7 separate regions of the Homo sapiens genome follow, and all the other regions are linked to region 1. The links are contacts of gene promoters, found by promoter capture Hi-C in blood cells and fetal thymus (Javierre and others, 2016). All regions are on one chromosome and are shown on one strand. Each heading gives the region's core, a stretch centred on a gene start or on the middle of the fragment in contact. The rest is flanking DNA. Distances are from core to core; before and after follow the strand shown. Region 1 holds the start of LINC00852 (long intergenic non-protein coding RNA 852). Region 2 holds the start of RPUSD3 (RNA pseudouridine synthase D3). Region 3 overlaps CIDEC (cell death inducing DFFA like effector c). Region 4 holds the start of JAGN1 (jagunal vesicle mediated transporter 1). Region 5 holds the start of IL17RC (interleukin 17 receptor C). Region 6 holds the start of CRELD1 (CRELD disulfide isomerase 1). Region 7 holds the start of PRRT3 (proline rich transmembrane protein 3).

Region 1 (3,783 bases), core at 383-2,882:
ACAACAGTCCACACTTGAGTGCCGCCCTCTGACTCCAAGGCCAGTGCTTCCCCACAACCCCCACCATTACATCCCACCTCCAATCTCACCACCGTGGAAGAAAAGCACTAGCAGGACGGTGCACCCAGCATTCTTACTCAACCTCTTGCTTTCCAGAGGCCCCAGCCGACAAGTGATCGCCCACAAGCCTTACTCACCTCTCTCTAAGTTTAGAAGCGCTCATCTGGCTTTTCGCTTGCTTCTGCAGCAACTCCCACGACTGTTGTACAAGCTCAGGAGGCGAATAAATGTTCAAACTGTATGCTGATGTTCCAAATGGGAATTTATTTCAAAGAGGAAAAGTTAATATTTTACTTTAAAAAAATCAAAATAATACAAATAAAAATAATTCTTGGTTTATGGTCTGTGGGAAGGGAATAAAAGGACAAGTAGCAAGGCCAATGTGCATGTTTAGAAAACCTAATCACACCAGCTCACTCAAGCAGAGAAGCTACTGCATGTGCATGCATTGTGTGGAATTAAGACTGGGTTTCTTAGAGAAGGAGGAGAGAAAGGGGGAGAGTAGGAGGGAGAGGGGAAAAGGAGGAGGGAGAGGAAGAGAAAGAAGAGATAAAGTGGGACTAAGAGAAAGAGGGAAGAGAGGAAGAACAAAGACACAGTTCCTTTAAACATCAGGGCTTCCTGAGTGCAAGGCTGCATTAACAGCTTATTAACAACCAGCCAGGGCTGTGTGGACAAAGAAACTTCAGGATGACATTATCGAAGCCAACATCCATTCAAGATTGGAGAGGAAGACAGGAATGCCCAAGAGTGAATCTGAAGTTAGACGTTAAGTGAGGTGCCCAATCACGGCTCTTGGGCACTGCTAGACAGCACTGAAAGAGCTGCATTCTCCTTCCTCCCTTCTCCACTACTGAGAAGGCCTGACAAAGCAAATGCCTCACATGGGCAAGGCTGGCCGTCGCCATGGTTCCCTTACTGATACCAGGTGGGATCCCCAAACATTCCCTCAACTCCAGTTCACAGCAGACACGAGCCTTGACTCTTATGTTCCACAACTTAATTCCAGTTACGACACTGGTCTTCCCGGGGGAAGGCCACTCGGTCATGCCCACCTTAGCCTAAACATGTGGACTGACTTGACTGTAGGCAACGGATGGGACACATCGCTAAGGGGAGGGAAAGGCAAAGAACGAGGTGGCCCCAAAGAGCAGCACCACAGACTTGCCAATTCAGCCATCTGAGCGCTTGTGGGAAACATGCAGGAAGCCGTCTGCAGAGACAGTTGGGGTAATGCCCACACTCTGGAAAACCCCTACCACAGAGGGTGCTAGGAGCCGAGCGTCTCCCCAAGTAAAATTCTGGCCGCCACACATGCAGGCACTAACTACTGATCAGGTGCGGCAGGCAGACAGAAACCCAACTGCTCTCCCTCACATAGAAGCTGTGGTCTGTGAATGCCACCGTCATCCAGGGACTCTTAGAAATGTAGAATCTTGGGCAGCACCCCAGCCCTAATCTATCAGGATCTGCATTTTAACAAGATCCCCAGGCTACTTAGTAAACGGCTGATGGGAAATGGCTTAGAATCCCCTTCCCAGGCGTCACAGCACACTGCAGGCCCCCTACTCACCCCTCCACCCTCAGACAGCCATGCCCCTACCTCCCCAGGCACCTGGCACAAGTGGGTACAGAGATCAACACACTTGTCCTGGAACTTAACTGTCTCAGCTCTGTCACTTAGTTGGGATACGACCTTGATTATCACTAACTGCCCACAGCCCTCTTATCAATAGCTACAGAAGAGGAGCAAAGGCCCAATATGGCCAAAGTGGTCAGGAGATGGTTTCTTTTTGAGAAAGCACCACTGATTGGGCTTGGGAGAGGATGGGTACCAGGCTCTGGACAAATGCTGGTCACCTGATGCTTCCCCCACCAAAGACAAGAACTTACTTCTCTCTCAAAGAAATCACAAGCATTATTAACCGCCTGCCTGGGTCATTCAAATAGAAACAGATATTGCGCACCCACTATGGGCTGGGCACTCTCACCTGTGCCAGGCAACAAGGTGTAGTGCAAAGATCTGGGCTTTGGCCTCGGACCTGAATTTGGATACCAGCTCTGTGATCCAGGCCAAGACTGAATTTCTCAGGCTCCTCACATGTAAAATGCCTACCTTGCTGGGTTACTGCCAAGACTGAACATGAGGTCTCACATGAGCTGTAGCTGGCAAAGGGCCCGGCACGTAGCTAAGCATTCAATTACTACAGCAGCCAGCACTCACTGTCACACCCCTGATGTACACCAGGCACCGTGTTAAATGCTCATGCAGATTAATGTGATTTCACTTCATTTTCACAGCAAGCCTACTTATGAGGGAGAAAACTAAAGCTCAGAGAAATTAAGTAACTTTCCTAAAGCACACAGCAAGCACGTGGCCGACTCACAGCCAACGCCACAGGACTCAGGGGCTGCTTTTTCATCCGGTTCCACAGCCTCTCAGCCAGTGCAGCTTCCCTCGCTCTACTGCCTAGGATGAGAGAGGTTTCCATATTCATTCATTTTCCTTCAGAATACACTGGGTGAACTTGGTAGAGGGGTGAGGACAATTTCAAGTCAACAATGGGCAGAAATATAATTTATCAAAGAAAATGGTTGGAGGACACCCTTGAGAAAATGTATTATTTCAAACATGTTCCTGTATCAGCTTTCTTAAACCCACTCCTTTATGGATCGTTTAATGATACCACTGTAACTTGAGGGTCTCTAAAGTGGGGTGTATGTACCCCTAGGGTGAGCGAGCTATTTGCTGGAGAAAAAAATTCTCCTTGTGAAAAAACTTTTACTTTGTGTATAATTAGCATAAGAGCACACGTATTTAAGTTCTCATGCACTTATAGTTGTGTGTTCAGAAATCATCTTGAGAGAGTGCACAGAAAAGGGTTGAGACGCCTCAACTAAGCTACCCACCTTAATCTGAATCCACCTACAAATGTCACTGGCATTTGGGGGGCCGAGGCAGGTGGATCACCTGAGATGAGGAGTATAAGGCCAAACAGGCCAACATGGCAAAATCTCATCTCTACTTAAAATTTAAAAAAAAAAAAATTAGCCAGTCATGGTATTGGGCGCCTGTAGTCCCAGCTACTCAGAAGGCTGAGGCACGAGAATCACTTGAACCTGGGAGGTGGAGGTTGCAGTGAGCTGAGATCAGGCCACTGCATTCCAGCCTGGGCGACAGAGTGACACTCAGTCTCAAAAAAAAAAAAAAAAAAAAAAACCAAAACCAAAAAAAAATGTCACTGGCAAATGAGCACTTTTTAATACAGTGATCCTGAGAGGGACTGGCTGGCCACTAATCACCATCTTTGACAGAGTTTGCTTCTTTAATCACTGTACATTCCGGTGGCCATTTGCCCTTACTTTACAAAAATGAACAAAGCAAAATTAAGGTGCTGAAAGCAAACGATGAGTATCGGTCTCAAGCTTCCTATAGAAAGATGGAAAAACAACAGAAAAGCCAAGAACAGTCACAAGGACCATCACTGAGTGGACAAAGCCAACTGCACATTCAACTGTGAAGGAAATGAAACAAAGTTCAGGACGATGCCAAAAATACATAATCAATGATTGTATCTAAAAGATGAGGCAGCAACAGAGACTTCAAAGGTGTTCAGCATTCTTGGAAGGAAGAGAGCCTTTCTTTTTATGCGTAAGTTTACTTTTTTGGCCGGTGCACTTGTATTCAAGAATACCTTAGTACAAAATAGGAGGGCTGAGTGC
Region 2 (3,783 bases), core at 841-3,340, 440 kb after region 1:
CGGGCACGGTGGCTCACACCTGTAATCCCAACACTTTGGGAGGCTGAGGCAGGTGGATCACCTGAGGTCGGGAGTTTGAGACCAGCCTGGTCAACATGGTGAAACCCCATCTCTACTAAAAAATACAAAAAATTAGGCAGGTATGATGGTGCATGCCTGTAGTATCAGCTACTTGGGAGGCTGGGGCAGGAGAATTGCTTGAACCCAGGAGGCAGAGGTTGCAGTGAGCCAAGATCGTGCCACTGAACTCCAGCCCGGGTGACAGAGTGAGACTCCATCTCGAAGGAAAAAAAAAAAGAAGTGTCTGTCAAAGGCCCCGTGCGGCCTTTAATCCCAGCACTCTGGGAGGCCGAAGTAGGTGGGTGAATCCCTTAAACCCAGGAGTTTGATTTTTTAAAAATTATTTTGTTATTTTTATTTTCTTATCTTGAGCCCAGGAGTTTGAGACCAGCCTGGGCAACATCGTGAGACCCCATATCTTTAAAAAAAAAAAAAAAAAAAAAAAAAGCTAGGTATGGTGGTGCACACCTGTAGTCCCAGCTATTCAGGAGACTGAAGTGGGAGGATCGTTTGAGCCTGGGAGGTTGAGGCTGCAGTGAGCTGTGATTGTGCCACTGCACTCCAGCCTGGATGACAGAGCAAGCAAAAAAACACATTAGTGGCCGGGCACAGTGGCTCACGTCTGTAATCCTAGCACTTTGGGAGGCCAAGGCGGGCGGATTGCCTGAGCTCAGGAGTTCGAGACCAGCCTGGGCGACATGGTGAAACCCCGTCACTAAAATACAAAAAATTAGCCGGGTGTGGTGGCGGGCACCGCACCTGTAATTCCAGCTACTCAGGAGGCAAAGGCAGGGGAATCGCTTGAACCCGGGAGGTGGAAGTTGCAGTGAGTCGAGATCGGGCCACTGCACTCTAGCCTGGGTGACAGAGCGAGACTCTGTCTCCAAAAAACAAAAACCAAAACACATTAGGAAAATGTTCACACCAAACTCAAAGTGGAGACTGGGGAGGGAGTGAAAACTGGAAGCACGCAGTAAAGGGGAATTTACTTTTATCCCTTTCATTTCTTAAACAAGAAAAACAGGAAACCTATACATATATATATTGTTTCACAATGACTAATTCTGATGGTAGGAATGTGGGCAGTCATTATATTATTCTTTTTTTTCTGTGTTCTTCTACTTTCTTTTTCTTTTTTCTTTTTTTTTTTTTTTTGAGACGGAGTCTCGCTCGTCGCCCAGGCTGGAGTGCAGTGGCACGATCTCGGCTCACTGCAAACTCCGCCTCCCGGGTTCACGCCATTCTCCTGCCTCAGCCTCCCGAGTAGCTGGGACTACAGGCGCCCGCCACCACGCCCGGCTAATTTTTTTGTATTTTTGGTGGAGACGTGGTTTCACCGTGTTAGCCAGGATGGTCTCGATCTCCTGACTTCGAGGGGCCACAGGACTAGTAGAGCCAAGAGTTGAGGGTCCGGGTGGGGTGATCCGGCCGTCAGAAATGCAAAAGCCTGGAAAGACATCTCCAAAGGCCAATCTCAGGTTGGACAATCGTGAGCTGGGGAAGCTGCAAACACTGTGACCTCCGGAATAACCGCTGGTAATCAGTTACCTCTAACCCTTAGCAGAATTCAGGTCCCTCTACTACTCCTAACCTGGTGGCCTTTCATTAACTCTATGAAGCCAGTTTAGTTCGGGGGAAGGGCAATTATCATTTAGACTACGAACTAATTTCTCCCAAAGTTAGCTTGGCCCAAGCCCAGGAATGACCAAGGACCGTTTAGAGGTTAAAGGCAAGCTGCGGGTTGGTTAGATCAGATCTCTTTCGCTGTCATAATTTTGTAATATAATTTTTGCAAAGGCGGCTTCAGGTTTTTTGCTAAGACAGGTTTTTTGATCAGATCAAATTCTTCTGCTACAGCGCTCTCCCTAAAAGCATAGGAAGGCATTTCTGCATTTCCTTCCTGGGCGGAGGAAAAGCCCCGCCTCCTCAGGCTCTGAGTCCCGCCCGGTCACCATTCCGATTGACACTCCAGCTGACCAATCAGCGCGCTGGCTGGAGCGCGGGTCTGCCCCTCTGGACGCACATGCGCGCTGTCCTGGCTCGGGAGATGGACGGCCGCCGTGTTTTGGGCCGGTTCTGGAGTGGCTGGCGGCGGGGCCTGGGTGTCCGCCCAGTGCCCGAGGACGCAGGCTTTGGCACCGAAGCCCGGTGATTAAGTACCCCCTCTCTCATGCGGGACGGAGGCTAGGGCAGGGGGAAGGCACGTGCGGGATCTGGATCAGGTAGATGTTACCCGAAAACAGCCCCGTTGGCCTCTCTGAGCCTCGGTGCCCTCCGCTGTAGAATGGGACCGGTCGTACCTGAATTTTCGAGGTCAGCCCAGACATTGTGAGGCATTTGTCAGAGGCCGCAGGATTTGGGAAGAGGCGTCCGGAGATAGGAATGGGTGGCACCTCGGGATGGAATGACTCCCATTGCTTCTCCCTCCTTGTCCAGGCATCAGAGGCAACCCCGCGGCTCCTGCCAACGGTCGGGGCCCCTCGGGGACCAGCCCTTCGCGGGGCTGCTGCCAAAAAACCTCAGTCGGGAGGAGCTGGTTGATGCGCTGCGGGCAGCCGTGGTGGACCGGAAAGGTGAGGGGTGAGAGGCACGGCCGCACAAGGACCGGGAGGGGACTGCCTCGGCGTGCAGTTGGGCTCTCCATTGAAGCCACGGGATCAGCCCTGCTTCTGCCTCCCACTAGCAGCATGAGCTGGGACAAGCCACCTAATTTGCACCCTCTCCCCGCTTTTAACCCTACTGCCATGATGCAGTAGGGTTAAGAGTGGGGAGAAGATGCAAATAACTACCGAGCCTTGCACATAGCCGGCGCTCAGTTACGGGAGTTGCTATACTAGATTATTGTTTATTGGCCGCGGTGGCTCACGCCTGTAATCCCGGCACTTTAGGGTGCTGACGCGGGCGGATCACCTGAGGTCAGGAGTTCGAGACTAGCCTGGCCAACATGGTGAAACCCCGTCTCTACTAAAAACACAAAAATTAGCCAGGTGTGGCGGCGTCCGCCTGTAATCCCAGCTACTCGGGAGGCTGAGGCAGGAGAGTCACTTGAACCCGGATAGCAGAGGTTGCAGTGAGCCGACATCGTGCTACTGCGCTCCAGCCTGGGATGACAGAGCAAGACTCAGTCTAAATAAATAAATAAATAAATAATGATTATTTATCGACGGACAAAACACAGGCTTTGGAGTCAGACATACCTAGGCTCTGTGATCAGCTTGCTGTGCGGCTTTAGGAAAATAACTGAATTTCTCTGAACCCCACTCTCTATTCAGTGATTTATTCCTTTTCTCAACTATTTCTTGAACATATGCTATGTTCCAGGCACTGTTCTAGGCAGGCTATACAGTGCTGAAAAAGATAGATATGGTTTCTGCTCTCAGGGGAGAAATGGATTTCTCTCTAACGGGAGAAATGGATGTCAGAAAATAAATGAACAAGTTACTAGTGGTAAGTGCTATGCATAAACTAAAACAGGGTGTTATGATGGTGAGGAACTGCAGGAGGAAGGCAGACATTAGATTGGAGATTCAGACCTCTCCGTGATGTGACATTTGAGCCAAGATGATAGGGAGCCAGACCTGGGAAATTTGGGGACAGGAAACAGCAAGTGCCGAGGCTCTGAGGTGGCAGAGGAACAGAAAGAAGTTGAATTTGGTGTGGGGTAGTTAACTCATGTCTGAGAGTCATGATGGGGACATGTGCTAAGATGCGTGAGAAAGTGCT
Region 3 (3,783 bases), core at 421-2,920, 410 kb after region 1:
AATAGTTGCAAATCATATAGCTGATAAGGGTCTAATATCAAGAATATATAGTGTTTACAGCTAAGCAAGAAAAAGACAACCCAATTAAAAATGCGCAAAGGATTTGAGTAGATATTTCTCCAAAGAAGATAACACAGTGGCCAATAAACCCATGAAAAGATGCTTGGCCAAGCGTATTGGCTCATGCCTCTAATTTTAGCACTTCGGGAGGTGGAGGCAGGCGGATCGCTTGAGCCCAGGAGTTCAAGACCAGCCTGGGTAACATGGCAAAACCTTACTTCTACAAAAAAATACAAAAATTAGCTGGGAACGGTGGCACATGCCTGTAGTCCCAGCTACTTGGGAGACTGAGGTGGGAGGATCACTTGAGCCTAGGAGGGTGACACTGCAGTGAGTCATGATGGCACCACTGCACTCCAGCCTGGGTGAGAGAGCAAGACCCTGTTTCAAAAAAAAAAGGCTCAGCATCATTAATCATTAGGGGAATGCAAATTAAAATCACTTCATCCACCAAAAAGTGGATATATGGCTGGGTGTTGTGCCTCACGTCTGTAATCCAAGCACTTTAGGAGGCCGAGGCGGGAGGACTGCCTGAGCATCCAGGAGTTCGAGAACAGCCTTGGCAACATGGTGAGATCCTATCTCTATTAAAAAAACAAAAAACAAAACAAAACCAAAAACAAAACAAACAAACGAAAAAAAGATTTTTGGGCCTGGTGCAGTGGCTCATGCCTATAATCCCTGCACTTTGGGAGGCCGAGGCAGGCGGATCAACTGAGGTCGGGAGTTTGAGACCAGCCTGACCAACATAGAGAAACCTTGTATCTACTACAAGTATAAAATTAGCTGGGTGTGGTGGCACATGTCTGTAATCCCAGCCACTCAGGAAGGCTGAGGCAGGAGAATCGCTTGAACCCAGGAGGTGGGGATTGCGGTGAGTCGAGATCATGCCACTGCACTCCAGCCTGGGAAACAAGAGCAAAACTCAGTCTCAAAAAAAGAAAAAAAAATAAGGATTTTTGGCTAAAATACAGACAATGAAAGCATCAGTGAGGATGTAAGGAGACTGGAGTTCTCATACGTTGCTAGTGGGGATGTAAAATGATGCAGCCACTGTGGAAAACAGTTTGGCACCTCCTCAAAGTTAAACATAGGCCCATTGTGGTGGCTCATGCTTGTAATCCCAGCATTTTGGGAGGCTGAGCAGGGAGGATTACTTGAGCCCAGGAGTTTGAGACCAGCCTGGGAAACAAAGCAGCACCCTGTCTCCACCAAAAAAAAAAAAAAAAAAAAATTAGCTGGGCAACATGGCACAAACCTGTAATCTCAGCTACTTGGGAGGCTAAAGTAGAAGGATCACTTGAGCCCAGGAGGTTGAGGCTGCAGTGAGCTGTGATTATACCACTGCATTCCAACCTGGTTAAAGAGCAAGGCCTTCTCCCCAGAAAAAAAAAAAAAAAAAAAAATTAAACATAGAGTTAATGTATGACTCAGCAATTCTACTCCTAGGTATATATGCCCAGGAAAATTGAAAACATATGTTCATATAAAAACTTGTACACAAAAACTCATAGCAGCATTATTCATAATAGTCAAGAATAAACAATCCAAGCGTTCATCCACTGATAAATAGATTTTAAAATCTGTTATATCTATATAGTAGAATATTATTTAGCCAAAAAAAAAAAAGAATGAATTATGTCCGGACGTGATAGCACATGCCTGTAATTCCAGCACTTTGGGAGGCCAAGGTAGAAGGATCCCTTGAGGCAAGGAGTTTGAGACCAGTCTGAGCAACATAGCCAGACACCATCTTTAAAAAAACATAAACATTAGGCAGGTAGTAATGGCATGCAACTGTAGTCCCAGCTACTCGGGAGGCTGAGGCAGGAGGATTGCTTGTGCCCAAGAGTTGGAGGCTGCAATGAGCTACAATTATGTCATGTGCTCTCTACTTATGCTTATGATATGCTTATGATTACTGCATTCCAGCCTAGTAGTCACTGCACTATTAGGTAGTGGTGATTGTTGCACAACTTTGCGAATATACTAAAAAACCCTGAATTGTACACTTTTAGAGGGTAACTTTTAGAGTATGTAAACTGTATCACAATTAAAAATTATATGTGACTTACATTATATTTTATTGGACAATATTATTCTAGACTAGGAACCCTGAAGCCAGGAGCCAAGAGGTACCATGATAAAGTCTCTGGGTAGTGATTCCACAGCAGAGGGCCTGGGCTCCAGTTCCACCTCATAGAGTCCAGCCCACTTGTTCTGGGATGGCAGAAGCATCACTGACCTTATTCCCCAGGTCCGGGACACTCTGATGCTGGCAGACAAGCCCTTCTTCCTGGTGCTGGAGGAAGATGGCACAACTGTAGAGACAGAAGAGTACTTCCAAGCCCTGGCAGGGGATACAGTGTTCATGGTCCTCCAGAAGGGGCAGAAATGGCAGCCCCCATCAGAACAGGTGAGGTCCCACCTGTTGCACCTGATGGGGGAGAAAATCGGGACTCTGGGAGATGTCTTCAAGGGGTGCTAACCATTTGCTTGTCTCAATGCAGGGGACAAGGCACCCACTGTCCCTCTCCCATAAGCCTGCCAAGAAGATTGATGTGGCCCGTGTAACGTTTGATCTGTACAAGCTGAACCCACAGGACTTCATTGGCTGCCTGAACGTGAAGGCGACTTTTTATGATACATACTCCCTTTCCTATGATCTGCACTGCTGTGGGGCCAAGCGCATCATGAAGTGAGCAAATTGGGATTTCCTGGGGACAGGGTGGGTACAGGCAATGGGAGAGCCCCTATCTGTCCACATGGACTCAGCCTTCTCAGCGCCTGGGTCTGGCTTTGGTGCTGACAAAGCATAGCCTGTATCAGACAACACGGAGCCTGATGGGCTCTCGAAGTGCTGTGGACGACACCGGCGTGTGCCCAGGGGTGCACGTGTTCCTCCTGGTGGAACCTGGATGCATTTTATTTTTATGACTACTTTCCACTCTAGTAACTACATTTTTTCATTGAAATAGGAAGTTTTCCTAAGTAGTCTTCTAGTCAATTTTATAAAAATGAACATGTGTTGGCCAGGCACGGTGGCTCATGCCTGTAATCCCAGCACTTTGAGAGGCCAAGGTGGGTGGATCACTTGAGGTCAGGAGTTTGAGACCAGCCTGGCCAACATGGCAAAACCTAATCTCTACAAAAATATGAAAACTAGCTGGACATCGTGGTGCATGCCTGTAATCCCAACTACTCAGGAGGCTGAAGCAGGAGAATCGCTTGAAGCTAGGAGGCAGAGGTTGCAGTGAGCCAAGATTCTGCCACTGCACTCCAGCCTGGGCAAAAGAGCAAGACTGTCTCGGAAAAAAAAACAAAAAAAAGCACGTGTCAAAGACTTAATTGAATTCATTAATTAATGAGAGAACTAGCAAGAAGTTACAATCAGCTCAAAGGAGATTTCAAAATCCCACATATATACAGGTCCAGGAAGAATGATGAGATAGGTTGAGTGCAGCAGCTCTCACCTGGGATCCCAGCACTTTGGGAGGTCAAGGCAGGAGGATCTGTTGAGCCCATGAGTTTGAGACCAGCCTCGGCAACACAGTGAGACCCTGTCTTTATCACACGCCCGTGTGTGCGCACACACACACACACACAAAATGCTGGCAGTGGTAGTATGTACCTATAATCCCAGCTAGGTGGGAGGATTGCTTGAGCCCAGGAGTTTGAGGCTGCAGTGAGATATGACCATACTACTGTGTACTCCAGCCTGGG
Region 4 (3,783 bases), core at 738-3,237, 390 kb after region 1:
TGCAGACAAAAAGGCCCAAGTATTTGTGTTCCAGGAAAGCAAGTGGTTATGTGTGGCAGGAACATATTGTTAGGGGGAGAGGGGTAGTGGGATATGAATCACAAAGACTATGAGAGTTAAAAGTAGAAGAGGCTGGGCTCACAACTCTAATCCAAGCACTTTGGTAGGCTGAAGCAGGAGGACTGCTTGAGCCCAGGAGTTCGAGACCAGCCTGGCAACAAAATGAGACCCCATCTCCATAAAAAAAAAAAACAACAACAATACTACTAATAAAAAGGCAGGGCTGGGCGCGGTGGCTCACGCCTGTAATCCCAGCACTTTGGGAGGCCGAGGCGGGCAGATCACGAGGTCAGGAGATCGAGACCATCCTGGCTGACACGGTGAAACCCTGTCTCTACTAAAAATACAAAAAAATTAGCAGCACGTGGTGGCGGGCGCCTGTAGTCCCAGCTACTCGGGAGGCTGAGGCTGAGAATGGCGTGAACCCGGGAGGCGGAGCTTACAAGTGAGCTGAGATCGCGCCACTGCACTCCAGCCTGGGCGACAGACCGTGACTCCGTCTCAAAAATAAATAAATAAATTAATAATAATAATAAAGGCAGAAGGGTAGCTCAGAGCTGTGTTTAGCAAGAGGACGCTGACTGCACCATAGGATTAAAGTCTGGCGGGAGAAGGTATTGGCAGAGAGGAAACGTACTCAGGCCGCCCATACTTCTCCAGCTAGATTTTTTCATCCAAAAGAAGTACATACTTATCTTATTCTTCTAATTCTCTCACGTCCCAAACGTATCCTCCTCATATCCCTAAAGGCAATGTTTCTACTCTGGGCTGGCATGAAAACACCTGCTTAAGTTGTGAGGGCCCTTTCAGCCGGGGCCTAGAGATGTGAAACAAATGAGAGTTCAAAGAGCTTGTCATTCTTTAAAACTCTGGAGAGAGAGATGTGAAGAACATTCTGGGAGAGATCAATGGATTTAAGGAAGTAAAAATTTTAAAATTTTTATTTAAAAATATTTATTGTAGAAAATGTGGAAAGGTTGGAAAAAAAAAACAGTCATCTCTAGACTTCAAGCTCCATGAAGGCAGGGAACAGTTTTTTTTTTCTTTAATAAAATTGTTTATTGAAGGTATAACATGTATACAAAGACCACGTCTGCTTTTGCTCACTATTATAACCTAGTGTCTAGCAGTGTATGATGTTTGGAAGCTCAGTATTTGTCGAACTAGTAATTGAATGTAGAAATACCCCTTACGTGGGAGTGTTTATAAAATTCATTTTAGGCAAGGCGTCCTTAGGAAAGGCTGCCTTTTACTGTCTATATCCCCCCAAACGGCCCAAAATATAACACCTACCATATATTACGTGGTAGGCCTTATGCTACTTTCTTTACACGAATTACTGATTAATCTTTCACCAAAACCTAAAAGGCAGATTATTCTCTCCCTCTACAGATGAGGAAGCTGAGGCTCAAATTAGAAATTCGGTTTCGAAGGTGATACAGCGGGGCCAGCATCGACGTGACTCGGGAGCCCACGCAGGGCGGGAGCCCACGCGGGGCTGGATCCCCTCAAGGCACCGGGCGGAACAAGGGGTGGAGCTCGCGGGGGCCACGGGGCTTTCCAGGATGGGGGACAGGCCCGAAGCCGTCACGGGAGGAGGGGACTTGGCAGGTGAGCGGGGGCTGGCTGGGGAGCAAGACCCTGAGGCCGGGCCGGCGTCGCTCCCCAAGCCCCGCAGGCTCCAGCGGGGGAGAAAGCCTCCGTGCTCCTCGCCTCACTTCATACCTCATCTGGTAGTGCATGGCGACGCGCTCCCGGTGCTGAAAGTCGCTGCCGTCGGTGCCGGCCGCTCGCGGGCCTGCTCGAGACGCCATTGTGCCTGCCCAGAACCCCCGAACCCCTCACGCGGACCTGGTACCGCAACGACACCGCCAAGCGGCCCACTGACCCTATTTGCGCCCCCGCAGCCGCGCGGCTCCGTGAAGAGAACTTCCGGCCCCTCTGTCTCTGGAGGACCGACTCTATGGTCACTCCTCTCCGCGCAGGCGCCCTCGTTCCCTCTCGCCCCCGCCCCGCCCAGCCCCGCCTCTTGTGGAGCGCGCAGGAAATTAATCCCCAGCCTCTTTTGCTGGCGCCCAGAGGCCGCTTGAACACTTTTACTTTCTTAAGCTGTAATATCAGTTAGGATACTTCTGTCCACACTTTACAGAGGGGGAAACTGATATATTCTATGACTTTCCCTGGAGCACACATCATTCACACAGCCTCACACCTTTAATCCCAGCACTTTGGGAGGCCGAGGTGGGTGGATCACTTGATGTCAGGAGTTCAAGACCAGCCTGGGCAACATGGTGAAATCCCGTCTCTACTAAAAATACAAAAATTAGCCAGGTGTGGTGGGTTCCTGTGACCCCAGCTACTTGGGTGGCTGAGGCAGGAGAATCGCTTGAACCAGGGAGGCAGAGGTTGCAGTAAGTCGAGATTGTGCCAATGCACTCCAGCCTGGGGGACAGAGTGCAGAGTGAGACTTTGTCTCAAAATAAGTTTCTCACATTTAATTATTGCAAAGAGAAACAGGGAATCTCTCAGTGAGGAAATCTGGCTTGTCTCCCTTAAACATATAGTCAGTTAATTTGATCAATAATGAGATAAACTGATATCTTGTGCCTCTTTTAATAGACTGAGGACACAGCATCACTTCTATGATGTTTCTGCCAAAAATACCTAACTGAATCTAATCATGAAGAAATGACATAAATCCAGACGGAGGGACAGTCTAGAAGAGAGCTGGACTGTACTCTTCAAAAATGTCAAGGCCATGAAAGAAAAATTATTTCCAAATAAACTTTATCTGTAGAGACAAAGTAGAATGACCATTGCCAGAAGCTCGAGGGGTGGACAGAGAATGGGGAGCTAGTGTTTAATGGGTACAGAGCTTCAGTTCGGGAAGATGAAAAAAGTTCTGGAGATGGATGGTGGTACTGATTGCACAACTATATGTGTGTGCTTAATGCCACGGAAACTGTACACTTAAAAATGATTAACATAGTAAGTTTTATGTTATGTGCATTTTACCACAACAAAATACTAAGCGAAACTTTAAAGAAAGAAGTTATATTATCCGAATAAAGAAAAAAAGAAAGAAAAAAGCATGTATAGTGAGCATCTTCCATGCACCAGGATGCTCTGCTATGACCTGGGGACGCAGAAATAAACATGGTCCATTTCCCCTGAGGGATCCCAGCCCAGTCGGGGGAAGAACTTGTACCCATGAAGCTAAGAAATTCAAGAAAACACAGGAGGCTGAGGGAGGAAAAATGAGGCCTCTCTCCCTGACCTGGAGGGTTAGGAAAGTCTCTCTGGAGTGGCAGCAATTGAGCTGAGGTCTGAAGCCTGAGTGGGAATTGGCTAAAGAGGTGGGGAGCGGAAGAGCTTTTCAGGCAGAGGGAACAGCATGTGTGAAGGCCCCAAATCCAGAGAGCACTTGGCTCTTCAAAGAACTGAGAAACTTAAGAGTGACTGGAGCATTTGGAGGGTTCAGTAAAGAGTTAAGTCTTTATCCCAGGGGGTTTGGGGAACCACTAAAAGGTTTAACCAGGAAAATGACACAGTTTTGCATTTTTAAAAGATAGGTCTAGGTGGGGGCACAGTGCCTCAAGCCTGTAATCTCAGCACTTTGGGAGGCCAAGGCAGGAGATCAGCCTGGGCAACATAGTGAGACTCCCGTCTCTACAAAAATAAAAAATAAAATAATATTAACTGGCATGGTGGTGCGTGCCTGTA
Region 5 (3,783 bases), core at 1,284-3,783, 370 kb after region 1:
TCTGTCGCCCAGGCTGGAGTGCAGTGGCGCGATCTCGGCTCACTGCAAGCTCCACCTCCCGGGTTCACGCCATTCTCCTGCCTCTGCCTCCCGAGTAGCTGGGTCTACAGGCGCCCACCACCATGCCTGGCTAATTTTTTGTATTTTTTTAGTGGAGGCAGGGTTTCACAGTGTTAGCCAGGATGGTCTCAATCTCCTGACTTCGTGATCTGCCCGCCTCAGCCTCCCAAAGTGCTGGGATTACAGGTGTGAACCACTGTGCCCGGCCAGAACTATTGTTTTTTTATGTGGCAAAAACAAAAACAAAAACAAAAACAAAAAAACTTTAAGAGATATTTCACAAGGAAGTTACACAAATAGCCAATAAGCATGTGAAAAAAGTGCTCAACTTCATCAGTCATTGGAAGATACAAATTAAAACCACAATGGCAAACCACTACATATGCAGAAAAATTATGACAATTACAACACTTATGCTTGTTTTGGCACCACATATACTACAACTGGAACAATACAGAAAAGATTAGCAAGGCCCGTGCCTGAGGATGACATGCAAATTCATGGAGGGTCCCATATATTTAAAATTCAAATATATTTAATTTAAAAATAAAATAAAATTACACCATCAAGTGTTGGCAAAGATGGGAAGCAACTAGGACTCCCATACACTGCTGGTAGGAGGGGAAAATAGTAGAAGCACCCTGAAAAACGCTTGGTGATTTCTCGCAGTCAAGCATATGAAGTAGAACTATTCTCATCCCCATTTTACAGACATAAAAGCTGAGGCATAACAGGCTGAAGGGACTTGCCCACAGCGCTGATCAGAATCAAAAGAATAGTCCCACCTCACATGGCTGTTGTGAGAATTAAATAAGTTGATACCTGTAAAACACTGGCTGTAATGCCTGGTACTGAAGGGTTTCAATAAATTTAATTCTTTTGTAATCCTCAAAGAGATAATGCATGTGAAAAAGTTTTATAGATTTTAGGTTTAGAAGGTGATTATTATTATTTTGCATACCACAGACTGACCAAACTGCACAAGGGCAGCAGGCACTTGCACCTCCAGCAGGACGCAGCGGGCAGTAGGGTAGGCCTGGAAGGAGAGCACGACTTGGGCCTGGAGAGAGGCTGTGGGCAACAGGGCAGGGGTCAGTCAGGCCCAGGAGCGGCAGGCCAGGCCTTGGCATGGGGCAGTTGGGCCAGCCAGGTTCTCCTCACCATTCCTAGGCTCCTCCACCCCTGAGTCAGCTGCTCCTCCAAACTTTTCCTCATCTTCAGGCTCTTCCCAGTGCCCTAGAAGGACCCAAGAGCAAGGCCCTGGGTGAGGCCCCCTGCTCTGGGCTGGCTGGCTTTGGCGTTGGCTTCCTTCTGGAAAGCCCAGTGCTGGGAAGCAGGGGCTGGGGAGACCACACTGGCCTGGGGGTCCTTCTGCTGGTGTCCTCCAGGAGAACACTGAGGATGCCTAGCACTGCTTGAGAGATCCCCTGGCCCTCATGCCCACCCCAGACACACTCACGTGTACACATGCACTGTCACAGGATGACTTGCTCACCATGCACGGCCAAGTGGACAGCCACACGCAGACAGAGGTCACAGTCGGTCTCCTTCTGGCACCTCAGCACCAGCTCTGTCTGCAGGTGCGTAGGCGCCAGCACGGGGCCCGGAGCAGGCACGATGTCCCCAGGCAGGCAGAGTATGTCACTGTCTGTGTGTGGAGGAGCGGGTGGGAGCTGAAGCTGTTCCAAGCCCAGAATTTGGTGGCACCTGACATACCCAGAGAGCCAAAGAACTTGGCTGTCCTAGGCTGAGGTGGGCATGGAGGGCATGGGCCTGGGACAGCTCTGCTCCCTTCGGCCAACCTGGGAAATTCTTTTTAAAAGTAGGGATACTTACCCCAGAGGCGGCAGGAGAGGCCCTGGGAAGGAAAGAAAGGAGAGTCAGAATTTGTGCCCCCACCATCTAGGCACTGTTCTCTGCCTAAGACCTCCACCTACCTTTTTCTGGGGCTCCGTATTCCCAGACCCTCCCAGAGAAAGACAGACCCAGCTCTTGCCCCTTCCCCGTTCTTCTCTTCTACCATCAGCACCAGACAGACCAGACAGGGCAGTTCTGGCAGTGGCAGCAGTGACAGGAGCCAGGCTAAGGCTTTGCTGAGCCAAAAACTGAACCCTGAGCCTTTCCTCGTCTCCCCAGGGTTCCAGACTCACCGGAGAGCAGTGGGTAGCGTCCTGAGGCCCCACAAGCCTCTCCAGAGAAAGGACCACTGGGCTTCGGCCCAGTGCCAAGGACAGCAAGAACCAGGGCACAGGCATCTTCTAGGTGCCAGGTGGCACCCAGGCCTGAGGCCCTGTGCTGCCCCCCCCCAAGGGGGGCAGACACCCCAGTCAGCCCGTGTCTGTGGGTGGCAGGGGCTGGAATCCCTCTTCAGCCTCCAGAGGGGGCGGAGGGGGCTGTGCTGGGTAGTTTGTGCACTCTCTGTCCTGGGAGTCCTGACTCTCCTCCTACTTCCAGCACGGAGTGCTTTCGTTTTGGCTCCCGGCAGGCTGCTGGCTGTTCCCGCCCCTCTCTGTCCCTCCCACCAACACCAGGCTTGGGAGCCAGCAGCCTTGGACTAGGGTGGTGGCCGCACCTCCTCCTTCTTTGGCTCTCCTCTCCCTCTGCTGACACCTGGCTGGGAGGGGCCCCTGAAGAAGACAGCGAATGCATCACGGCTGAGTAAGGGAGCTCTTACTCACCCCCGGAGCCCTAAGGAGGACACAGCCCTGGAGTCCTGGGCCCACTAAGTCTCCCCTTACTAGGCACACTCGGTCCCTTCAGACACTCTTTGGGCCTCGGTAACCCTTTGTGGGACAGGAGCTCTAAAAGCACGGACAAAAGGCACCAGAAAGTGGGCTTTTCACCACTGCCTGGCTCAAATGCGGTATGGGGAGTAGAAGGAACCCAGGACCCCAGAGCCTGGCAGACAGGGGTCCCATCTGTGCTGTTGCTGTGGGCCGGCTGTGTGATGATGGACACACCATCTGGCGAAGCCTCTGTTTTCCTCTCCTCTTGTAAGAATCACTGGGGGGGATCAAGGAGATTGCCCCATCCTCCTTTGCTTTTGGAGGCATTGCTTGTAAGAATGTGACGGATGCCATGCGGTATGGACACAGAGGATTTGGGCCAGCACACTGACACATACCCCACCAGGCAGGCTCCCCAGCCACACTAGAGAAGCACACTGTGTTTTCTTAGTTTGTCATGTTTGTCTTTATTCATCTTTCCGGATCTTGGTCCCCACCGCCAGCACCCACCCACCCCACCCCCAACCCCCACTGTCCTGACCACCTGGAGCCAAAAGCCTCTTTTCCTAGGTCCAGAGTCCTCTCTCCCTCTGGCCAGAGCCTCAGAGTGGGAAAGGGAATCCCTGGCCCCCAAGGAGGTTTTCTCTCAGCCGCCCCCTGCAATCCCCCACCGCCTCACCCTCCTTCAGAACTGACATGGCTCCTGCCTCCCTACCCCGGCCCCAACCTCTCCAGCCTGGACTGAAGCATAAGCACACTGCTCTTTCTGGAGTTCTGGAGAGGAAGTGGGAAGACCGCCCTCCCCCATCAGAACAGGGGTTAGAGGAGCTCTCAGTCAAGGGAAAGTATGAGGAGGAAGAGGGACGCGCGCGGGGACTGGGCTGGGACTTCCGGCCTGTGAGGCAGGGAATGCGGCTTTTCGGCCAGTCGTCCTCGAGGCACCCCAAGGATTTCAGGGTCGAAGGCTCATTCCGGGGTTCCAGCCAGTGTCCGTTGC
Region 6 (3,783 bases), core at 1-2,500, 350 kb after region 1:
TCCAGGAAGGGGGCATTTTGCTTGCCTTGTTTACTGCTATACTATAGATGTTCAGTGCTATTTGTTGAATGAATAAGTGCTCCCCAAGAGTTCCTAGCCCTACACCAGCAGAGCAGAGATTTGGCGGGGAGGGGAATATACACCCCTTCCCCCAGCAGCCCCTTACCTGTCTTTGTATTTGGACAAATTCTCTTCCTCCCAGGCAGTGTTTCCACCTCCAAAGTTGTCCCGGATGGTTCTCTCCAGGCCCTGGAAACAGAAAATTAGTAATAGCTAAGTACAGTGCCTGGCACATGCTAGCACTTCACTGTTCTACTGACTAGGAAACTGAGGCACAGAAAGGCAACCTGCCTAGGGCCATACAACTAGTAAGAGACCAAGATGAAACTTAAATCCACGCAGATTTGCATCCCAGAGTTCCCCACTCTAAATCGCTGTGTTCCCCTCTAACGAGGCTGCCGGTGCACCCACCTTGTTAAAGCTGTCAACCAGTCCCCGGCAGGTATGACACGGATGGGGCTGAGGCGGGGGAGAAGACTGGGGAGGTGGAGAGGGCTGGAGCCAGATAGGTCCTGGGAGGTTGAGGAAGAGGCTGAGGCCCCAGAGCATAGCTGGGACTAGGCCCTTCGGGGGCCATGGGGCCATCTTTACCCAGGCTGGGGACCTGCAGATAGAGGGCGTGGAGAGGCTTCACTGAAGGAGTCAGGCCCCACGCGAGAAAGAAAAAGGTCTGTTCTAAGGTGCCGTGGCGCTGGGATCTGCGTTATTACAAGCAAAAGAGGCCAAACTGGGTATTGCAGGGGCTGTGGGGATGGGTGGGGAAAGGCGCATAAGATGCAATTCCAGAAGAGAAATAAGTTATCCTCGCTAGCATGGGGTGGAGAGGAAAGTGGCCTCGCTCCTTGACAAGGGGGCAGAAGTCAGCCTCTTGTCTGAGGGTCTGATAAAGAATATTAGGGGCCGGATCCGCAGAATTAGGGAGAAGAGATCAGATTCCAAGTACTGAAGGAGAGGAGGCCAGAGGGGTTGTCTTGGGGGAGGTGTCCGGAACCCCGGGCTTGGAGGGAGGAGCCCGGATCCGGATATGAAGGGAAGGGATCAGATTCAGGGCCTCGCAGAAGGGCAAAGGCACGGCCCACGAGCCGGCAGAGAAGGATCCAGACCCTCGTAGGCCACGGAGAAGGAAGAAGCGACCGCCCCAGCCCGCGGGCGCCGTGGGCCGTCTCCTCACCGCGTCGCTGCCACAGCCTGCGTAAAACGCACAACCCCCACCCGCGCCGCAGTCCAGGGGGCGGAGCTTGCCGCCCAGCCAATGGCGACGGGCCATGTGCCATTACGTCACCCCACGCCAGCCAACCAGAGGCGGCACCGAGCTGCACCTGTCCGGGCTTTAAAGGGCCGCGGGGCTAGGGAATGACGTTTGCCAGCCCCGCCACTGAAACGGAGACGCGTGTGGGCCACATGGGTAGAAAAACAGCGTCTGCCTTTATTTAAGTCCCGTCCCCCGCCCCAGGTCCCGCGCCTGGTCCCACCCCGCGTCCCGGCGCGGGAGTCCCCGGGGGATGGAAGTAGCTATCCAGGGCTGGCTGAAGGGCCCGGGACACTTGCTCCGCTCTCTCTTGGAGCCGCCCGGAACGCGGGGCGCGAGGCTGCTGCAGGGCCCCCAGGAAGTCTGGCAGTTGGGAGGGCAGTGTGAAGACGGGCACGGTGCGGAAAAGGGCGGGTACGGCGTCCGGGTGGAGCAGCCTGTCGAAGCAGGCCCCCACGTAGCTGCCGGGCGCCCGGCCCTGCAAGAAGTCGGGCAGCACGCAGCTGAGCGAGGCGCGGAAGGCGTCGTGCGGGCCGTGCGCCCCGGGCCCGGACACCCCATCCTGTAGCCACTCGCTGCACAGCGCCACCGCACCGGGAGAGAAGAGCAAGACCACCACGCCGCCCTCCTGCAGGGTCTGGCGCCGCTGCGCGTGAAACCAAGCCACGGGCCCCTGCGCGCTCAGTTCACGACGGCTCCACAGGTCTACGGCCACGCGCAGCGGCAGCTGGCACAGGGCCGACGCCAGGGCGCCCACCAGGCGCTCGAAACCCGAGTCATCGGCTGAGTAGAGGAGCAGAGCCGCGCGGCCCCTGGCGGCCGCTGCCGGAGAAAACAGATGGGGAGGGAAGAGGTGAGCTGGCACAGGCCTGGCTCCCCGGGGGCGGCCCTCCGCCCAGCGCTTGCTCCCACTCACCCCCCGAGCGGACGTCCTGTTTCAAGAGCCTCAGCCACCCTGTTAGGGGAGAGGGGCGGAGGCAGCCAGTGAGCTCGGCCGCCGCTTTCCCTCGGAGAACTCCCACAGCCACTCTGGTCCTCCCCCAGGGGAATGGGGAGCCGGGAAGCGCTCACCTTTCGCGTGATCCTTTTTGAGAAGGAGGATGAGGGAAAGCGCAGCGGCAAAGAGTAGGCAGGCCAGCCACACGAGGGCCCAGCGCTTGTGGATGTCTGGGAGACCCAGAGAAGAAGAGTTAGAAACTTACCCTCCACAGAGAAGAAAAACTGAGACTTAACAGAAATGAATTGGGCCGGGTGCGGTGGCTCATGCCTTTATATAATCCCAGCACTTCGGGAGGCCGAGGCGGGCAGATCACGAGGTCAGGACATCAAGACCATCCTGGCTAACACGGTGAAACCCCGTCTCTACTAAAAATACAAAAAATTAGCCGGGCGTGGTGGCACACGCCTGTAATCCCAGCTACTCGGGAGGCTGAGGCAAGAGAATCGCTTGAACTCGGGAGGCAGAGGTTGCAGTGAGCCGAGATCGCGCCATTGCACTCCAGCCTGGGCGACAGGGTGAGACTCCTCTCAAAACAAAACAAAACAAAACAAAAAACGAAGAAATGATTTGCCCAGAGTCCACAGCACAGTGTCAGAGCCAGTGGATGAATATAGCTCCATCTGTTTAGGGGTCTTTGAATAAGTAATGTCACCCTCTGCCTCAGTTTTCTCCTCTGTAAAGTTGTACCTGTGTCATAGGGTTGGTGTGAGGACTAAATATATTAATACATATAAAGCTTAACACAATGTGTTAATACATACTTAACACAATGCCGAGCATCTTAAGTGCTAAAATGTCAGCTGTTTTTCTCCCCTAAGCTAGGGTTGCTGGGCCCTTGATCTTGCTGTCCTGGGTGTCTGCAACTACCTGGTGTCCCTGCCCTGTCTTTTTTTTTTTTTTTTTACCTCCAATTGATTTGCCTTGAATTGATTCATGACAGCCTCAGAGATCTTTTAAAAATATAAATTTGGGCCAGGTGCGGTGACTCACGACTATAATCCCAGCACTTTGGGAGGCCGACGCGGGCGGATCACGAGGTCAGGAGTTCAAGACCAGCCTGGCCAAGATGGTGAAACCCCATCTCTACTAAAAATACAAAAATTAGCAGGGCATGGTGGCAGGCGCCTATTAATCCCAGCTACCCGGGAGGCTGAGGTAGAGAATTGCTTGAACCCGGGAGGCAGAGGTTGCAGTTAGCCGAGATCGCGCCATTGCACTCCAGCCTGGGCAACAGAGTGAGACTCTGCCTCAAAAATAAATAAAAAAATAAGTATATATATATATATATATATATATATATATATGTGTGTGTGTGTGTGTGAAATATATAAAAATTTGATCGTAGCTCCTGCTGCTCTCAACATAAGATCCAAATCCCCTACATGTCTCCTGCATCTTTATCTCATGACAGAAACCTGCCTGTCCAAGACCCTGTATCTCTACCCCCTTCCCCTAGCTCAGTCTTCAGAGTTTT
Region 7 (3,783 bases), core at 337-2,836, 330 kb after region 1:
TCCAATTACAGGGGACAGGATAAAGAACAATAACTAGCTGACCATATGCTGGAATTCTCAACAGTGGATACAAGAAATGATATAGATCTATAGATATTTACATGAAAAATGTGCCAGAATATATTGGAAAGTGAAAAAGACAAATTACAGAAATGTGTACAGTGGCTGGGCACGGTGGCTGACGCCTGTAATCCCAACACTTTGGGGGTCCGAGGCGGGCTGATCACCTGAGGTCAGGAGTTCGAGACCACCCTGGCCAACATGGTGAAACCCTGTCTCCACTAAAAATATAAAAATTAGCCAGGCATGGTTACTAGGGAGGCTGAGGCAGGAGAACCACTTGAACCTGGGAGGCGGAGGTTGCAGTGAGCCGAGATCACGCCACTGCACTCCAGCCTGGGCGACAGAGCAAGACTGTCTCAAAAAAAAAAAAAAAAAGTATACAGTATGATGTCATTTCTATTTAAGATGTACATGTAACTGTACATTGAGAAGAATCTGAAGGATACATACCAAGCTGTAGGTAGGATTTACCTAAAAGGATGTAGGGATATAGAAAGGAAGTGAGCTCCCCGTCCCATGAGGTATGCAAGCAGAGGCTAGCTGCCCCGTTTTCAGGGATGCTGCAGAAGACATTTCCACATCCCTCAGAGATGACCTCGGTTCCACTCTGAGCCCTGACAATCCCTGAGCGAGGGGAAGTCAGGGTTGACAGAAGAGTCCACCCCTAAGGGGAAAGAGTTAAGCAGGGCTGCGCTCCTGTGGGCGGGCTCGCGATCGGCAGCGCCGGGCTCTGTTAGCCGAGTCTGAGCATCTCGGAGGATGCGGCGCGGCGATCGGCTGCAGGGACGCGCGCAAGGTGAACACGGGGGCTGCGGCGCGCAGGTGAGGAGCTGGCCCAGGGAGGGGGCGATGGCGGGACCCCGACGGGGAGCGTGGCCTGCTGCCCCCGTCGCGGGCGCAGGCGACCAGGCCTGCACGGCGCCCACCCCCATCCAGGACACTGCGGGAAGGCGCGGAGCCAGGGAGAGAGGAGACGGAGGAGGAGGAGGAGGAGGAGGAGAGGTAACCCGAGATGGACCAGCTCCGAGGCTGCCCCGCAACGGCCTCGCCCTGCCCCCAGGCCGGCCTCTCCCCAGTCCCTGCGGCAGAGAGATCCGCCACCCCCCACAGCCTCTCCAGCAGAGTGGGAGCCCAGGGCTGGGCAAGCCCCCGCCTTGTCCGCAGGTGCCCACATCTCTTGGGTTGGCAGTGGTAGGCAGATGGCATGTTTATCTTTGGAGGCCCCATTCAGCCGTTTTCTCGGCAAAGCTTTTTGGACCTCCTGTGGAAGATGAGCCTCCGAGGGTTTCACAACCCCGATTGTGTCCACTCAGCTGTGTGACCTTGGGGGAGTTGCTCACCCTCTCTGAACCCCCGTTTCTTCCCCCTGTGAAATGGCTGTTCCCACACCTTGTATTGGGAGGGCGGAGTGACGTGTTGCTAAGCTCAGCGCAGGAGCCTCACTGGGAAAGAACTAAACACAGGAGCACTGTTTTTAGCCAGTACCTGTGTTAGGGGCGTCTCAGCGCACCCCTACTCCCAACCCTGGAGCAAAGCCCTGTCTCTGGGCCCCCAGCACCTAGCCTAGACCAGGAGCAGCCCATGGGGCTCCGTGAATGTTTGAGAAATGAACTAACAAGGCTTTAAGACAGAGTCTAAACTCGAGTTTGGAGGATGGGACTCAAAGGTCTTTGAACCCCTTGAAATTGTTCACAACTTTCGGTGAGCCTGGGTCTTTTCCCCGGGAGAGCACCAGGGGTTTTCAGTGGCTTCTTAAGGTGTCTGTGAGCCACCATGGGTTAACAGCCAGGAAGCTTTGGGGACAGCTGCTCCCCAGAGAGGAAAAGAGCAGGGCCTCTGCCGCCAAACACACCCAGGCTTCAGCTCTCGCACCCTCCATGAAACCTCTCCTGGTGGTGGGGCCCCTTCCTGCCTCCCTGGCCCACTGACAGGCTCTCGAGAACAGGAACTTTTAGGGGATATCCACGTGGGGCCAGGTATATACTGGAGGCTGCAGGTTTGAAATAAGAGGCAGGAGATTATTATAGAATCAGACCAGAGTGACAAGTGCCCAGGAAGATGAGGGAAGGAAGGCGGGAAGAGGAATGTGTAACGCTTGTCAAGCATCAGGTATGAACCTCGCCCATACCTGTTTGGTTATTTGTCTCATGCCTTGAGTTAGGCATGCTTATTATCCCCATTTTACTGATGGGAAAACTATGATGCAGAGAGGTGAAATGACTCCCCCAGGAAATGAAGACACTGGGATTCAAACTCAGGCCCCTCGCCAAAGGCCGGTGCATATTCCTCTCCCTCTCCACGTCTCTCATTTTTGAAGTGGGCCTTTAGGAATAACATTTCAGGCAGGGTGCAGTGGCTCATGCCTGTAATCCCAGCACTTTAGGAGGCCAAGATGGGCAGATTACCTGAGGTCAGGAGTTCAAGACTAGCCTTGCCAACATGGCAAAACCCCATCTCTATTAAAAATATAAAAATTAGCCAGGTGTGGTGGCACATGTCTGTAACCCCAGCTACTCGGGAGGCTGAGGCAGGAGAATCACTTGAACCTGGGAGGTGGAGGTTGCAGTGAGCCGAGATCACGCCACTGCACTCCAGCCTGAGCGACAGAGCAAGACTCCGTCTCAAAAAGAACAGGATTTCAGTAAGTGAAGGGGAAGGGAGAGAGCATTCCCTGCTGACAGAACAGCAGAAGCAAAAGGCATGGGAGCCACACAGTCCAGTGGGTGTTGGAGGACAGATGAACAGCTTGTGGTGGCCAGGGTCTTGGAAGGCCAGGAGAGGAGCTTATGTTCTTTCTTGAGGGAAATGGGGAGCCACTGAAGGTTTTAAAGCAGGGCAAGTGCCACGTCCAGCAATTTTAAAAGCAGAGAAGCTGCTGCCTTGCGTTGCTTTTCTTTCCTGTCAGCCCCTTGAGGAAGGCATGGGGGCCCCCAGCCCTCACATGTCATTCCATGCCCTGTTTTTTTTTTAGGCTCATCCAGTGAGGACTGGAAGGTGGGGGCTTTAGGCCCAGGCATCGGAGTAGACCATGGCCTCCAGCCCATGGGGCTGTGTATGTGGCCTTCTGCTGTTGCTGCTGCCACTCCTGGGGACTGGCCCTGCCCTGGGGAGGGGCTTTCCCAGGCCACTTGAAAACTCCGAAATCCCTATGATCCCTGGAGCCCACCCCAAGGGCTCTGTGGGCTCAGAGCCCCAGGCCTTTGACGTGTTCCCGGAGAACCCCAGAGCTGACAGTCACAGGAACTCTGATGTCCGCCACGCCCCTGCTGAAGAGATGCCTGAGAAGCCTGTAGCCTCTCCCCTTGGCCCAGCCCTGTACGGGCCCAAAGCAGCACAAGGAGCTCAGAGAGAACGACTCCCAGTAACTGATGACCTCCAGATGGCTCAAGGACCAAGCTCCCACGGCTGGACAGGACCTCTGGACTCACAAGAGCTTCTGCAGCAAGAAGCAGTGGCTCCCCACCCAGTGGGCCACCCTCATCTCACTTTCATCCCCACAACTCCCAGACGTCAACTCAGGGTAGCCACAGTTCCTCCCTCCCTGCAGCATGAAGGCCAAGAGGGACAGTGGCCACCTAGAGATGAGGGTCTGAAGGCCAAAACTAAGAGCAGGGTCCCACCCACTTCTCCCTCAGACCACCAGGGCCCACCCCACACCCTTGTTTCCCACTCAGGTACTGTCAAGAGGCCAGTGCTGGAAGGACAGGGTGGGTTTGAGGA

What was found. The method cuts DNA at HindIII sites, captures the fragments that hold promoters and counts their contacts. A CHiCAGO score of 5 or more calls a contact.
Region 2: the fragment with the promoter of RPUSD3 here is called in contact with the fragment with the promoter of LINC00852 in region 1 in 8 of 17 cell types (activated CD4 T cells, non-activated CD4 T cells, naive CD4 T cells and 5 more); the score reaches 9.9 in activated CD4 T cells.
Region 3: a contact is called between a fragment that was not itself captured here and the fragment with the promoter of LINC00852 in region 1, in 1 of 17 cell types (non-activated CD4 T cells). The highest score is 5.0, in non-activated CD4 T cells.
Region 4: the fragment with the promoter of JAGN1 here is called in contact with the fragment with the promoter of LINC00852 in region 1 in 3 of 17 cell types (total CD8 T cells, non-activated CD4 T cells and naive CD8 T cells); the score reaches 7.1 in total CD8 T cells.
Region 5: a contact is called between the fragment with the promoter of IL17RC here and the fragment with the promoter of LINC00852 in region 1, in 2 of 17 cell types (total CD8 T cells and naive CD8 T cells). The highest score is 8.4, in total CD8 T cells.
Region 6: the fragment with the promoter of CRELD1 here is called in contact with the fragment with the promoter of LINC00852 in region 1 in 11 of 17 cell types (activated CD4 T cells, naive CD4 T cells, non-activated CD4 T cells and 8 more); the score reaches 11.7 in activated CD4 T cells.
Region 7: a fragment that was not itself captured here is called in contact with the fragment with the promoter of LINC00852 in region 1 in 2 of 17 cell types (naive CD4 T cells and endothelial precursors); the score reaches 6.9 in naive CD4 T cells.

What each region holds. Positions count from the first base shown.
Region 1 is chr3:10,282,268-10,286,050 of GRCh38, reverse strand. LINC00852 (long intergenic non-protein coding RNA 852) reads right to left here and starts at 1,632. Exons shown (of 1, transcript NR_026829.1): 1 at 305-1,632. GHRL (ghrelin and obestatin prepropeptide) reads left to right here. Exons shown (of 6, transcript NM_016362.5): 6 at 157-385. The coding sequence ends at 176. It overlaps GHRLOS (ghrelin opposite strand/antisense RNA), which reads right to left. Exons shown (of 6, transcript NR_073568.1): 2 at 2,448-2,530; 3 at 198-303. The HindIII fragment of the contact is 4,911 bases long and covers 1-3,488 here.
Region 2 is chr3:9,842,315-9,846,097 of GRCh38, reverse strand. It overlaps RPUSD3 (RNA pseudouridine synthase D3), which reads left to right and starts at 2,090. Exons shown (of 9, transcript NM_173659.5): 1 at 2,090-2,208; 2 at 2,497-2,633. The coding sequence starts at 2,108. RefSeq lists an enhancer at 2,148-2,227. The HindIII fragment of the contact is 7,859 bases long and covers 1-3,783 here.
Region 3 is chr3:9,868,857-9,872,639 of GRCh38, reverse strand. It overlaps CIDEC (cell death inducing DFFA like effector c), which reads left to right. Exons shown (of 7, transcript NM_001321142.2): 5 at 2,318-2,476; 6 at 2,571-2,758. Among named protein-coding and RNA genes, the nearest start is that of CIDEC, 9.5 kb to the left of the region's middle. The HindIII fragment of the contact is 7,361 bases long and covers 1-3,783 here.
Region 4 is chr3:9,888,814-9,892,596 of GRCh38, reverse strand. It overlaps JAGN1 (jagunal vesicle mediated transporter 1), which reads right to left and starts at 1,987. Exons shown (of 2, transcript NM_032492.4): 1 at 1,786-1,987. The coding sequence starts at 1,874. The HindIII fragment of the contact is 18,772 bases long and covers 1-3,783 here.
Region 5 is chr3:9,915,848-9,919,630 of GRCh38, reverse strand. IL17RC (interleukin 17 receptor C) reads right to left here and starts at 2,533. Exons shown (of 19, transcript NM_153460.4): 1 at 2,211-2,533; 2 at 1,897-1,918; 3 at 1,556-1,708; 4 at 1,222-1,296; 5 at 1,022-1,131. The coding sequence starts at 2,315. IL17RE (interleukin 17 receptor E) reads right to left here. Exons shown (of 16, transcript NM_153480.2): 16 at 3,234-3,783. It also overlaps the pseudogene RNU6-882P. RefSeq lists enhancers at 2,622-2,811, 2,741-3,280. The HindIII fragment of the contact is 19,830 bases long and covers 1-3,783 here.
Region 6 is chr3:9,931,301-9,935,083 of GRCh38, reverse strand. CRELD1 (CRELD disulfide isomerase 1) reads right to left here and starts at 1,250. Exons shown (of 11, transcript NM_001077415.3): 1 at 1,164-1,250; 2 at 472-664; 3 at 167-249. The coding sequence starts at 645. IL17RC (interleukin 17 receptor C) reads right to left here. Exons shown (of 19, transcript NM_153460.4): 17 at 2,381-2,476; 18 at 2,226-2,264; 19 at 1,463-2,131. The coding sequence ends at 1,491. RefSeq lists an enhancer at 839-1,208 and silencers at 1,309-1,638, 2,219-2,278. The HindIII fragment of the contact is 19,312 bases long and covers 1-3,047 here.
Region 7 is chr3:9,949,424-9,953,206 of GRCh38, reverse strand. It overlaps PRRT3 (proline rich transmembrane protein 3), which reads left to right and starts at 799. Exons shown (of 4, transcript NM_207351.5): 1 at 799-885; 2 at 3,035-3,783. The coding sequence starts at 3,092. All of the region lies in intron 3 of PRRT3-AS1 (PRRT3 antisense RNA 1), which reads right to left. RefSeq lists a silencer at 761-1,300. The HindIII fragment of the contact is 545 bases long and covers 1,314-1,858 here.